Regions from separate parts of the Homo sapiens genome. Here all the other regions are linked to region 2. The links are contacts of gene promoters, found by promoter capture Hi-C in blood cells and fetal thymus (Javierre and others, 2016). All regions are on one chromosome and are shown on one strand. Each heading gives the region's core, a stretch centred on a gene start or on the middle of the fragment in contact. The rest is flanking DNA. Distances are from core to core; before and after follow the strand shown.

What was found. The method cuts DNA at HindIII sites, captures the fragments that hold promoters and counts their contacts. A CHiCAGO score of 5 or more calls a contact.
Region 1: a contact is called between a fragment that was not itself captured here and the fragment with the promoter of ABCA2 in region 2, in 1 of 17 cell types (erythroblasts). The highest score is 5.6, in erythroblasts.
Region 3: the fragment with the promoter of NELFB here is called in contact with the fragment with the promoter of ABCA2 in region 2 in 15 of 17 cell types (erythroblasts, endothelial precursors, activated CD4 T cells and 12 more); the score reaches 17.3 in erythroblasts.
Region 4: a fragment that was not itself captured here is called in contact with the fragment with the promoter of ABCA2 in region 2 in 10 of 17 cell types (total CD8 T cells, naive CD8 T cells, total B cells and 7 more); the score reaches 11.7 in total CD8 T cells.

The regions. Positions count from the first base shown.
Region 1 is chr9:137,282,161-137,285,222 of GRCh38, reverse strand. TOR4A (torsin family 4 member A) reads right to left here. Exons shown (of 2, transcript NM_017723.3): 2 at 2,582-3,062. Among named protein-coding and RNA genes, the nearest start is that of TOR4A, 6.0 kb to the right of the region's middle. The HindIII fragment of the contact is 1,900 bases long and covers 571-2,470 here.
Region 2 is chr9:137,026,646-137,029,669 of GRCh38, reverse strand. ABCA2 (ATP binding cassette subfamily A member 2) reads left to right here and starts at 1,433. Exons shown (of 49, transcript NM_001606.5): 1 at 1,433-1,595. The coding sequence starts at 1,530. LINC02908 (long intergenic non-protein coding RNA 2908) reads right to left here and starts at 2,206. Exons shown (of 3, transcript NR_171031.1): 1 at 1,759-2,206. RefSeq lists an enhancer at 548-1,292 and a silencer at 1,176-1,355. The HindIII fragment of the contact is 3,387 bases long and covers 1-3,024 here.
Region 3 is chr9:137,253,779-137,256,726 of GRCh38, reverse strand. NELFB (negative elongation factor complex member B) reads right to left here and starts at 1,400. Exons shown (of 13, transcript NM_015456.5): 1 at 1,116-1,400; 2 at 657-820; 3 at 299-398. The coding sequence starts at 1,361. It also overlaps a transcript of CIMIP2A not described here. RefSeq lists enhancers at 97-1,044, 1,045-1,992 and silencers at 1,003-1,062, 1,103-1,282, 1,293-1,662, 1,853-2,032. The HindIII fragment of the contact is 15,726 bases long and covers 1-2,948 here.
Region 4 is chr9:136,883,561-136,886,822 of GRCh38, reverse strand. It overlaps TRAF2 (TNF receptor associated factor 2), which reads right to left and starts at 307. Exons shown (of 11, transcript NM_021138.4): 1 at 282-307. It overlaps MIR4479 (microRNA 4479), which reads right to left and starts at 90; the gene lies at 20-90. It overlaps LOC105376326 (a long non-coding RNA gene), which reads left to right and starts at 569. Exons shown (of 3, transcript XR_930448.2): 1 at 569-725; 2 at 1,473-1,530; 3 at 1,689-2,043. RefSeq lists an enhancer at 1-346 and silencers at 1-532, 753-882. The HindIII fragment of the contact is 4,476 bases long and covers 1-3,262 here.

The DNA of each region.
Region 1 (3,062 bases), core at 271-2,770, 260 kb before region 2:
CGTCTCTACTAAAAAAATGCAAAAAAAAAAATTAGCCAGTCATGGTGGCAGGCGCCTGTAATCCCAGCTACTAAGGAGGCTGAGGCAGAATGGCGAGAACCCGGGAGGCGGAGCTTGCAGTGAGCCAAGATTGCGCCACTGCACTTCCAGCCTGGATGACAGAGCAAGACTCCATCTCAAAAAAAAAAAATGCAAAAAACTAGCCAGGCGTGGTGATGGGCGCCTGTAGTCCCAGCTACTTGGGAGGCTGAGGCAGGAGAATGGCATGAACCCAGGAGGCGGAGCTTGCAGTGAGCAGAGATCGCGCCACTGCACTCCAGCCTGGGCAACAGAGCGAGACTCTGTCTCAAAAAAAAAAAAAAAAACAAAAATTACCAGGACATGGTGGCACACGCCTCTGGTCCCAGCTACTCAGGAGGCCAAGGCAGGAGAATCGCTTGAACCTGGGAGTTTAAGGCTGCAGTGAGCCAAGATTGCACCACTAGCTGAGATTGCACCACTGCCCTCCAGCCTAGGTGACAGAGTGAGACCCTGTCTCAAACAAACAAACCAAAAAAAAAAAAAAAAGCTTTATTTCAAAAAGTTTGCCTAGGGCCAGGCATGGTGGCTCACGCCTGTAATCCCAGCACTTTGGGAGGTCTAGGCTGGAGGATCACTGTAAGTGGGGAGTTTGAGACCAGCCTGTCCAATATGGTATAACCCTGTCTCTACTAAAAATACAAAAATTAGCTGAGCATGTTGGTGCGTGCCTGCAATCCCAGCTACTCGGGAGACTGAGGCAGGAGAATTGCTTGAACCCAGGAGGTGGAAGTTGCAATGAGCCGAGATCATCGCACCATTGCACTCCAGCCTAGACAACAAGAGTGAAACTCCGTCTCAAAACAAAACAAAACAAAAAATTAGCTGGGCATGGTGGCACACACCTGTAGTCCCAGGTACTAGGGAGGCTACAGCAGGAGAATCCCTTGAACCCAGGAGGCAGAGGTTGCAGTGAGCCAAGATCGAGCCACTGCACTCCAGCCTGGGCGATAGAGCAAGACTGTCTCAAAAAAAAAAAATCAATAAAATTAGACAATTTAGATGAAATGGACAAATTCCTAGAAGTTCCAAGAAAGACACAAATTACCAAAACTGACTCAGGGACTTTGCAGATGTAGGTAAGTGTGGACCTTGGATGGGAAGATAATCCGTTATTACCCAGGTGGACACATTTACTTATTTATTTTATCTTTTTTGAGACATAGTCTCACTCTGTCGTCCAGGCTGGAGTGCAGTCGCAGGGTCTTGGCTCACTGCAAGCTCCACCTCCTGGATTCAAGCGATTCTCCTACCTCAGCCCCCCAAGTAGCTGGGATGACAGGAACTCGACACCACATCCGACTGATTTTTGTATTTTTAGTAGAGACAGGGTTCCACCATGTTGGCCAGGCTGGTCTTGAACTCCTGACCTCAGGTGATCTGCCCGCCTTGGCCTCCCAAAGTGCTGGGATTATAGGCGTGAGCCACTGCGCCTGGCCCAGGTGGACACATCTAGTCACATGGGTCTTTAAAAGCAGAAAACTCTTCCTGGCTGTGGTCGGAAGGATGCAGTGTTGCTGACCTTGAAAAATGCAGAGAATGGCCAGGCGCGGCGGCTCACGCCTGGAATCCCAGCACTTTGGAAGGCCGAGGTGGGAGAATCGCTTGAGCCCAGGAGGTCGAGGCTGTAGTGAGCCACAATCACGCCATTGCATTCCAGCCTGAATGACAGAGAGAACCTGTCTCTATTAAAAGAAAAGAGAAGCCAGGCACGTTGGCTCACAACTGTAATGCCAGCATTTTGGGAGGCTGAGATGGGTAGATCACCTGAGGTCAGGAGTTCGAGACCAGCCTGGCCAACATAGTGAAACTGAGTCCCTACTAAAAATACAAAAATTAGCTGGGTGTGGTGGTGGGCGTCTGTAATTCCAGCTACTCAGGAGGCTGAGGCAGGAGAATTACTTGAACCCAGGAGGTGGAGGCTGCAGTGAGTGGAGATCACACCACTGCACTCCAGCCTGGGTGACAGAGCGAGACCTTGTCTCAAAAAAAAAAAAAAAAGTCATTATGATGTGCACACACAGATCACGAGGGTTACTACGTAATGACACATGGCAGATGTCAAAGAATAACTCAGAGACAACTGCACAGAAACAGTTTCTGCACATATGAGGGAGAGCAGCTATGACATTTGGGATCATCTGGTTAGCTGGCAACTTCCCGCATGTCCAGCCTGGGTCATCTGCCCTCAGCACCTGTCCAGGGCAATTAAAGAAAATACTTTAGTTATTTATGGATTTCCTGGAAAGCCCGGATGTTTGAGCTGCAGACTGCATGTGAGCCCCAATCCTTCCATCAGCCTCCAGGTCCACACCACTTCCCCATTCAGAAGTTTCTCAAAACAAAACAAAAAACAAAACTCTCGATCAGCATGTCCTATTAAATAGAAGCTTAGAGAGAAATGGATAAATCTACCATAAATCTACAATTAGGGAAAGATTTCAGCATCCTCCTCAATTATTAACAGACCAGACAGACAAGAAACAAACCAAACAGTAGGTCGTCAGATTTGAACCACACAATTTATTAACAAGCATGATTTGTGGCCTCGTTTATTACCAGCCCCCACCCCAGCACTTGGTGCACATTCTCCTTAAGCGCAGAATTTGGCCTCAAGGTAATATTTTAGGAATAAATAAAAAGAGGCCGGGCACGGTGGCTCACACCTGTAATCCCAGCACTTTGGGAGGCCGAGGTGGGCGGATCACGAGGTCAGGAGTTCGTGACTAGCCTGGCCAACATAGTGAATCACCGTCTCTACCAACAATACAAAAAAATTACCCGGGCGTGATGGCGGGCGCCTGTAATCCCAGCTACTCGGGAGGCTGAGGCAGGAGAATCGCTTGAACCCAGGAGGCAGAGGTTGCAGTGAACCGAGATCGTGTCATTGCACTCCAGCCTGGGCAACAAGAGCAAAACTCTGTGTCAAAAAAAAAAGAAAGAAAGAAAGAAAGAGATAAAATTTCCCCTTAGGTCTGGACCTT
Region 2 (3,024 bases), core at 184-2,683:
GGCCAAGGTTGGGGAAGAGTAGGGAACGGACGTCAGAGGCCTGGCCAGGCTGAAATCGCCCATCTCCCAGGCCCGCAGGCTGGAGGGTGTCTGGGGTGACAGGGTCTGACCTGTGCCTTGTAGCTCCCTCTGGTGGCCAGTGCTGGGGAGGCACTGGGGATGCGGCTGCAGCCAGGGAGCCCCTGTAGTGGACGGTGGAGAGTGGGGCGAGGAGGAGAGAGGCCAACCCACGGGTGGTGCTGACCAGGGCCCCAACAGGCTAAGCCCCCGGGGCTGGGGCACAGGGCTTGTCCCTACCCCAGGTAGGGGTGGGCAGGTTGAGGGCAGGAAGCCCCCCTCACCCATGGCTGTGGCTTGTGGGAAAGACCTGCTGGTAGCTTCCTGCCCTGACCCAGCCCTGTGGACTGAGCAGAGAAAAGCAAGTGCCTTGAGGCTGCGGGCTGGGGTGGGAAGCTGATCCCTCACTCACTAGCCCAGGGTCACCTTCCTGCTGCAAAGGAGCTGGGAGGAGTGGGGAGCTGTGGCCTCGGAGGTCTTCATTCACTTGAGGATGCGCCTTCTATGTGCGCCCTGACACTGGACACCACACAGCGCTACTCCACCCCATTCACAGGGGGGAAACTGAGTCTGGGAAGCGCCGTCAGAGCCACCCATGGGGTCAGCCTGTCCTCTGTCGCTCTCTACAGGCCACGCGGAGGAACTGCCCCACCTCCCGGGGCGCCCCAGCAGGTGCCAAGCCACAGCCGCAGAACCGCCTGATCCCGAACTCCCTGTGCAGAGACCAGACTCGCCCGAATATGGGGAGAAAAACGAGCCGCGTGCAGCAGGGGCCGCCTCGGTCCCCTGCCTGCTCCGCTCACGGCGAGCGTTCCTGGGGCCTCGAGTTTCCCCCCTTCCGCTGGCTGCTCGGAATCGCGGGACGGACCCACCTGGCCGCCCTGCCTCCCTTCCAGGTGGGCACCACCTGGACTCCAAGTGCTGGTTTACAAAGCACACAGGAGACCCTTACGGGGGTGAGCTGGCCCCTCGCCAGCGTCCGCTCGGCGCGCCCCGGGGACAGTGAAGGCTTGGGGCGCCTCTGCAGAGTCGCCAGCGCGGTGGGCGCAGCCGGATGCCTCTGGGAGAAGAGCGCAGCGCCCGAGGGTCCCCCGGCCTACGAAGGCTAAGCCGGGGTCTCGGATTCGATGTGGGCGCGTCGCGTGACGCCCGGCGAGGGGCGGCCCGGAGGCTTCCCGGCGGCGGCGCGCGCAGGGTCTCGGGCCCGGGTCGGTCCCGGGCGCGGCGCGGGCGGCGGGCGCCTCCTGGCGGGCGCGGACGGAGCGCGGCGCCTTTAAGCGGGGGCGGGCGGGGCGCGGGCAGAGTCGCTGTCGCCGCGGCCGCCGGGGCGGAGCCAGCGCGGATCGGGTCCCGGACGCCCGAGCGCCCCGCCCCCGCGCGGGCGATGCCCAGCGGCGCGGCGGGCTGCGGGGCCCGGCGGGGCGCGCAGAGGAGCGGGCCGCGGCGCTGAGGCGGCGGAGCGTGGCCCCGCCATGGGCTTCCTGCACCAGCTGCAGCTGCTGCTCTGGAAGAACGTGACGCTCAAACGCCGGAGCCCGGTGAGCCCACCCCACGCGCCCGCCCTCAGCCCGAGGCCGCGCGCACCGCGGCCAGAGGCGCGCTCCCCGCGCGCACGTGCGGACGGCCGGGCGCGCGCAGACCCCGGCGGGCGCTGGGGGCGGCGCGGGCCCGAGCCCCCTCCCCGCCGGGCCCTGCCCTCGCCTGCCGGCGCTGCGGCCTCCGGGGAGGTGGCTCGGTCGTGTCCAGTCCGGTCCCGCGTCCGCTGACATCGCGGTGCTCGGCTGAGTCACGGCACCCGCGCCCTCTGCAGCGCGCTCGCTGGGGCCGCTGTGGGCGGGGGGCAAGCGGCGCTCAGGACTCTGGCTCGAGGGAGGCCCTGGTTCCCAGGACAGAAGGCAGGCCTGGGGGGCTCCATTCAGCTGCGAGGCTCCATGGTCCTTGGGCCCAGCCTCCCTGGGGTCCCGGAGGAGACCCTGTCCCTTCCCTCCGTCCACCCCTCCCCTGCCCTTGGGCCGCGGCCTGCCATAGAGGTTGGTCCCAGGCATCTCTCCGCCTCCCCTCCTGGCACATCCGTGACCCTTGCTCATGCTCTCGCCACTGGGAATGTCCTTGTGCCAGCCTTGGCCAGCCTGAATCTCTGCACCCATTTGTCCTTTGGGGTCAGTTCTCCCCGAGCCTGATCCACTCTGTTGCCTCCTGGTCCCCCCACCTGCTCTGGGGGCTGGGTCTACTGTTTGGAGCTGTGAACCCCGGCTTTCCCAGCACTGCCTGGGCAGCCAGTGGACCTGAGGGTGCAGGACACATGGCTGTCAGGGACAGAAGTCCTTCGTGGAGCGAGGGGCTTGGGGATATGGGTGTCCTGCCATACCCCCAGCTGGCCAGCTTGGCTCCAGCCTGGGAAGGGAAGGGACACCTCCCAGGCCACAGGCCTGGACCAGCTTAGGTTTCTGAAGGCCCTTGGGATTGTCCAGGCCAGGGCTCAGAGCAGGTGGGGGCCTAAGGCAGACATCCTCTTGCCCAGCCAGGGCCCGGGCGGGACCCCTTGGGCTGCACCAGTCCGTGCCTGTTTATCTTTCAACATGCACTGCAGGAAACCCAGGCTGCAGTCAGCTGGGGTGGCCATCATCACCATGGCTGGCAGAATTCCCCTGGGCACCTGGCCTTGGCGGGGAGCCTGGGTTAGGTACATGCCCTGGCCAGGCACCTGGAGCTGGCTGAGTGGGGTCCCATGGATCAGGCCTGCAGCCCCTGGCATTGAGTCACTGGGGACAGCAGAGCAGGGCCAAGGGAACAGGGATGTGGCATGTGGCATGCATTAGTATTAGTCCCCGGGGGTGGTTGTCAGGAAGGTCCCCACTGGGCTTGGGAGCAGAGGCTGGAATGGTGGCCCCTGTTCCAGTGGGGACAATGCTCAGGGAAGGGAGTGTGGCCTATGAGGGCAGCTGGCAAGCAGGTGGGAGGTGTGCA
Region 3 (2,948 bases), core at 151-2,650, 230 kb before region 2:
GCTAAGCTCCACCCCACAGGGCACCTATGACTGGTTCCCCGGCCCCAGCATGTCAGACAGACATGCTAAATACCAACAGCTCTTTCCCAGGAGGGGCCCCACACCCTAACTCCAGTGCTAAGGTTCGGTCTCCACGCGGCTCATGTGGGAGAAGTCAGCACAGAGCTCACCATGGACAGCACTTGGGCAGGCAGCACAGGAAGCTCCCGGAGCTAGGCGGCCACCGGAACTTCCACTAACCAAGGGCATGAGAGTGGGCGGACGGTCCACGCCATCAGGGTTAGGGTTAGGGCCCTACCTTGGGCAGGTGCTTCATGACGCACATCACCACGGGCTGCAGGGACGGCATCTTCACCAGAGAAAAGCTCTTCTCCAGAAGGTCTTCCAGCTTCTTGTACCTGGAACAACTCACAGGATTGATGGTGCAGCGATGCGCCAAATCGCAGCAGCTACCTGCCTGTCCCTACACAGATAACAGCTACCAGGACAAGCCTCCACGCCCAGGACACATGGGTCAAGGGGTCACTCAGACACAGGCCCAGGCCACCTCTGGGAGCAAGGATGTGGAGCCAAAAGGACAATAAATGCCCCTGAGTCGATCCAAGGCTGAGAGGCCGGCTGCACATCTCACCTGCCCACCCCTCCCGCTGACCCACCTTTCCTCAGCCTTCCCCTCCGAAGCGATGGCTGACACTCGCTCCAGCAGCTTGTCCCGCAGCTCATCGAATACCGACTGGTGGAACTCCAGCCGCGGCGTCCCGTGCAGGTCCAAGAAGGGGAGGGCTGACTGAAGAGATGGCAGCAGCACACCATTCTCTGTCTGAGGAAGCCAAGAGAAACCTCAAACGCAGCCCAGTGCGCCCGGGCACCCCGAGGTCCTGAGAGCACAGGGAGGCACGCACCCAGGTGTTCCCAGCCGTGCTGGCGGTAACCGCAGCCACCGAAAGCCACCCAGCCGTCCAGCAAAGGGGTGCTGGCTCCGGACTCCACCCCCAGAACAGGACTCAGCCACCAGCAGAAAGCCGGAAAACTTCCGGCGCCTCCGCCAGGCCCGACTCCCGAGCAGGCGGCCCGGCCCTCCAACTGGGCTCCCCCCGCCCCGGGGGCCGCCCCACCTGGAACTGCTCGATGGCCTTGAGCGGCTCCGTGCAGTTGGTCAGGGTCTCCTTCAGGTCCTCGCCGTTGGCCACGCCCAGGTCCTGCAGCCCCGCGAACATGGCCGAGGCCCCGGCCACCGCCCGGCTAGGCGCCCCATCCCCAGCCCGTTCCCCCGGCGCCGCCGCAGACACCCCAGAAGCCCGCTCCGCCGGGCCTCGGGGACCGCCCGAGCCCCGCTCCCCGGCGCCCTCCAGCTCGGCCAGGTCCCGCCCGCCGCGCGACTCCGCGCGCGTCCCGCAGCCGCCCACTTCCGCCCCGCACCGCCCAGGTCCGCCCGCCAACCGGCCCCCGGGAAACGCCGCCGGGGCCGCGCGCAGGTTCCTGGGAGCAGCGCCCTCACCCGGCGCGAGAGACCCCGCCCAGCCAGCCCAGCGCGCATGCGCCCACCCGGTCCCGCCCGCGCCCGGGCTTTCTGGCAGAAGAGGGCGGGTGAGGGCGTGGGGGGCGGACTCAGGGTCCGTCTGCTCCGGGAACGGACGTCGTCGCAGCCGAGTGAATTTCGTGTACATAAGCGTGGAAAACGCTCTTGCAGATCTCGCGGCAGCCACGCGCAGCGGGGACGTTTTGCCGGGGGTTGAGCTCCCCGCCCCTCTGCCCCGCAGGGGCCGGACACAGGCGCAGACTCCCTCCTGAGCGTGGGTTCCTCCGCGTGAAACGGGCACGAAGCCCACCCCGGCGCTGTCGCCAAAACTGAGATCTGAGCGCCTTCAGGGGGCCGGGGCCTGGCGGAGACCGGGCCCGCAGCGGGAGCGCGAGCGACGGCCGCCCTCCCAGGCACCGGGAGGCTGTGGCGCCCACCGAGCTCCGCGGAGCCGTGAAGGAGAGTCCAGGTTCCACAGTGTCCCTTCTTATCCCAGGCGGGTGGGCTCCCCGGGCCTCCCCGCCTCTCCAGCCCGCCGCCCTCCCGCAGGCTGTGCCGCGCCAAGCCCCCTACACACACCCTCTCTCTTTTCGGTCTCCGCTGCTGAAATTTTCTCTAGAAATTTCTTTCCCGCTGCCCAGCAAACTCTTGCTCTTCCTTGAAGGCTTCTTCCTCCACCACCTCCTCCAGGAAGCCCTCCCTCCTCAGCCCAGCTGGAGGAGATCGCTCCATCTTTCCTGCCGCTCCCACTCCTAGCTTTGGGTCTCACCAGGGGTGCCTGGTGGTGCAGCCGTGAGCAGAGCTCCTGTTCCCACAAGCCGGGCCGAGCTCCCAAGGCCATGGCTACCACAGCTCTCTTGCCGCTGGCCAAGTTGGTCAGCCCTAGGGCGAGGGTTCCAGTGCCTTGATCCAACCCCCAGCTGGTTCGGTGGCAGAGGAGGACAAGGGTCACAGCACACACACAATCCTGAGCCTGGGATTCCTCTCTGAGAAAGGGGGTGGTGCTGAGGCCACAGAAGCAGCTGCCCAGAGCCTTTTTGAAGGGGTTGAGCTCTGGGCCTGGTCTGGGTCCTGGGTCTGGGGAGGACCTGGGGAGGTGCGGGTGACGGCACCGCAGGTAAGGCTCCTGCAAGGTGGCAGCCTTGGGGCCCGACCCTGGGTAGGAGGGCAGGCCAGTGATGACAAGGGAGGCCCCAGCCAGGCGAAGTTGCAGGCAGGGGCAGTGCAGGGTCCCAGCAGGTGAAGGCCCCGGGAGTGGAGTCTGCAGGGCCCTGGGCCAGAGTGTTCAGGGCACAGGTGACTAAGCCCAGCCAGGTCTTCAGCTCAAGGCCTAGGGGAAGTGGGGCTGGGCCCTGGTGAGCAGATCCCTGGGCCCTTCCTGAGGTCTGGCCAGGCCGACCCCACCTGGAGGTGGCGGCTCAGGGCATTT
Region 4 (3,262 bases), core at 1-2,500, 140 kb after region 2:
AAAACCCCGGACCGTGCCCTGGCGCTGCTCCGAGCACGGCCGCGCGCGTTCCCGAACTTTCCCGCGCCAGCCACGCTCGGACTTGGTTTCCGGCCCAGCGGCTCAGAGAAATCCCCTCGGGCTGGCCCCGCCCCCGCCCCGCGGCCTCTCCCGCCCCCGCTCCCGCTCCGGCCCGGAGTCTCCCTGAGAGGTGCCCGCGCCTGCGCCCGACCCCGCGCCCGACCCCGCACCCGACCCCGCGCCCGCGCCCGACCCCGCACCCGACCCCGCGCTCGCCTCACCCAACGGTCGCAGCGCGCCCGGAACTAAGGGCCCGCCCAGCTACCGCCCCCAACGCCGCCGCCGCCGCCGCCGCTCCGCCGCGTGCGCCTGACGGACGGACATGGGAGCCAACCAGCCAGCCCTCAGGAAGCTGTAGCGAGAGCCATTGGCCAGATACGCCCCGCTCCGAGCGCGCCTGACGGACTGACGCCGGAGCCAACCAGCGAGCCCGCAGGAGCCGCAGCGTGCGCCGATTGGTCGGCGCTGAGACGGCGTGGGTACCTAAGTCGCCCTCTGCTTTTTCCTCAAAGAGCGCGCCGGGGCGTTGGTGCGGGGAGCTGGTGAGGTGCTGCGCTGTGGGGTCCGCGCTAATTGGGTCCCTTCCCCAGGTGCGGCGAGACAGCGAGGCCCTTGCTTCCCCTCCCGTGGCCCCGGGGCGGAGACCCCTGCCGCACACCCGAGAGGTGAGCCGGGAGCCCAAGCCGGGCGACACCGGTTCCCACGAGGCGCGCGTCGCGCGCGGGACGCGGGGCCCTGGCGGGGCGGCCGCACCTACCCGACACCTGCGGGTCCCTCCGCCTCCCCCGGTGCCGGGCGCAGAGCGGCGCCTCAATTTGGGTAACATTTATGAGAAACAGGACTAAAAGAATACTGCACACTTAAGTAAGGTATTAAGGCTATGGGGTCTCCTTTTGGGGTGAGGTAATGCTCTGCAACCGGACAGTGGTGACGGCCGCCCGACATGGCCGGTGTGCTAATCTACTGGGTTGTGCACTTTATTTATTTTTTTTTTTGAGACGGAGGCTCACTCTGTCGCCCAGGCTGGAGTTCAGTGGCGCGATCTCGACTCACTGCAACCTCCGCCTCCCGGGTTCAAGCGATTCTCCTGCCTCAGCCTCCCGAGTAGCTGGGACTACAGGCGCCCGCCATCACGCCCGGCTAATGTTTGTATTTTTGATAGAGACGAGGTTTCACCATGTTGGCCAGGCTGGTCTTGAACTCCCGACCTCAAGTGAAAACACAACCTATGGCCTCCAGACACTCAAATGAAAACAGTGGCCTTGGCGGCCAAAACAGGGGCTGCCCTAGGAGTCCTGTGGGCTGCATGGGGGAGGCGGCACTGTCATCTGCCCAGGAGAACGGGAGCTGCAGCAGGTTCTCTCTGGCGGTGCACGGGCTAGCACTGGACACACCACCCCCTCTCCATCCAGCCTTTGGTGAAATGGAGACCTTTCACCCCGCTTTGCAGAGAAGGAAACGTTCACGGAGGTAAGTCTCCTCCAAGCATTCAGACCCTGAGACCACGGGACTCCTCAAGGATGGAATACACTGCAAAACAGGGCAGGCTTTGAAGTTGCATAATTTACACAGGCCACGCTGTCCCCAGGCGCCAATGCCACATTTCATATATGTTACTTGGTTTGCAGTTGGAATTCCCCTCCGCCCCAAACCCACATTCCTGGGACAGCAAGGCCTTGAGATGGAACTCAGGAAGCCATCGGATTCCATCAACGTCATCACCCCTGAGTTTGCTGCAAGCAGCCATGGAAACGTCCCAAGTCCGCACCTGCAGGCTCAGTGAGGTTGCTCAAGCCCAGGAACTAACTGAGCTCTCAAACGTAAGAAGGCGTCTCCTCCTGGCTGCACCTGGGAGGCTCAAAGCTGTCCTGAGTCTGCAGCAGCCAGCTCGGGATGAGAAAGGGTTCACGTGGCAGTTCATGCCTATAATCCCAGCACTTTGGGAGGCTGAGGCAGGAGGACCGCTTGAGCCCATGAGTTCGAAACCAGCATGGGCAGCATGGGGGAACCCCATCTCTACCAAAAAAAGGAAAAAAAATTTAGCTGGGTGTGGTGCTGCACACCTGTAGTCCCAACTGCTTGGAAGGCTGAGGCAGGAAGATGACTGAAGCTCAGGAGGTGGAGGTTGCAGTGAGCTGTGGTTGCACCACTGCACTCCAGGCTGCGCTATAGAGTGAGACCCTGTCTCTTTTTTTTCTTTTTTGAGACGGTGTCTTGCTCTGTCACCCAGGCTGGAGTGCAGTGGTGCGATCTCGGCTCACTGCAACCTCTGCCTCCCGGGTTCAAGAAATTCTCCTGCCTAAGCCTCCGGAGTAGCTGGGACTACCGGCGCACACCGCTACGCCCGGCTAATTTTTTTTGTATTTTAGTAGAGACGGGGTTTCACCGTGTTGCTCAGGCTGGTCTCGAACTCCTGAGCTCAGGCAATTGCCTGCCTCGGCCTCCCAAAGTGCTAGGATTACAGGCATGAGCCACTGCGCCTGGCTGACCCTGTCTCTTTTAAAAAAGAAAAAACAGCCAGGCACGGCGGCTCATGCCTGTAATCCCAGCACTTTGGGAGGCCTAGGCGAGCAGATCACCTGAGGTCAGGAGTTTGAGACCAGACTGGCCAACATGGTGAAACCTCGTCTCTACTAAAAAAATACAAAAGGCCGGGCGCGGTGGCTCACCCCAGCACTTTGGGAGGCCGAGGTGGGCAGATCATGAGGTCAAGAGATCGAGACCATTCTGGCCAACATGTTGAAACCCTGTCTCTACTAAAAGTACAAAAATTAGCTGGGCATGGTGGTACGCGCCTGTACTCACAGCTACTCAGGAGACTGAGTAGGCAGGAGATTCACTTGAACCCGGGAGGCGTAGGTTGCAGTGAGCCGAGATTGCGCCACTACACTCCAGCCTGGCGACAGAGCAAGAATCCATCTCAAAAAAAAAAAAAAATACACAAAAGGCCCGGCACAGTGGCTCATGTTTGTAATCCCAGCACTTTGGGAGGCTGAGGTGGGTGGATCACCTGAGGTCAGGGGTTCAAGACCAGCCTGGCCAACGTGGTGAAACCCTGTCTCTACTAAAAATACAAAAATCAGCTGGGCATGGTGGCAGATGCCTGTAATCCCAATTACTCAGGAGGCTGAGGCAGGAAAATCACTTGAACCTGGGAGGCAGAGGTTGCAGTGAGCCGAGATTACGCCACTGCATTCCACCC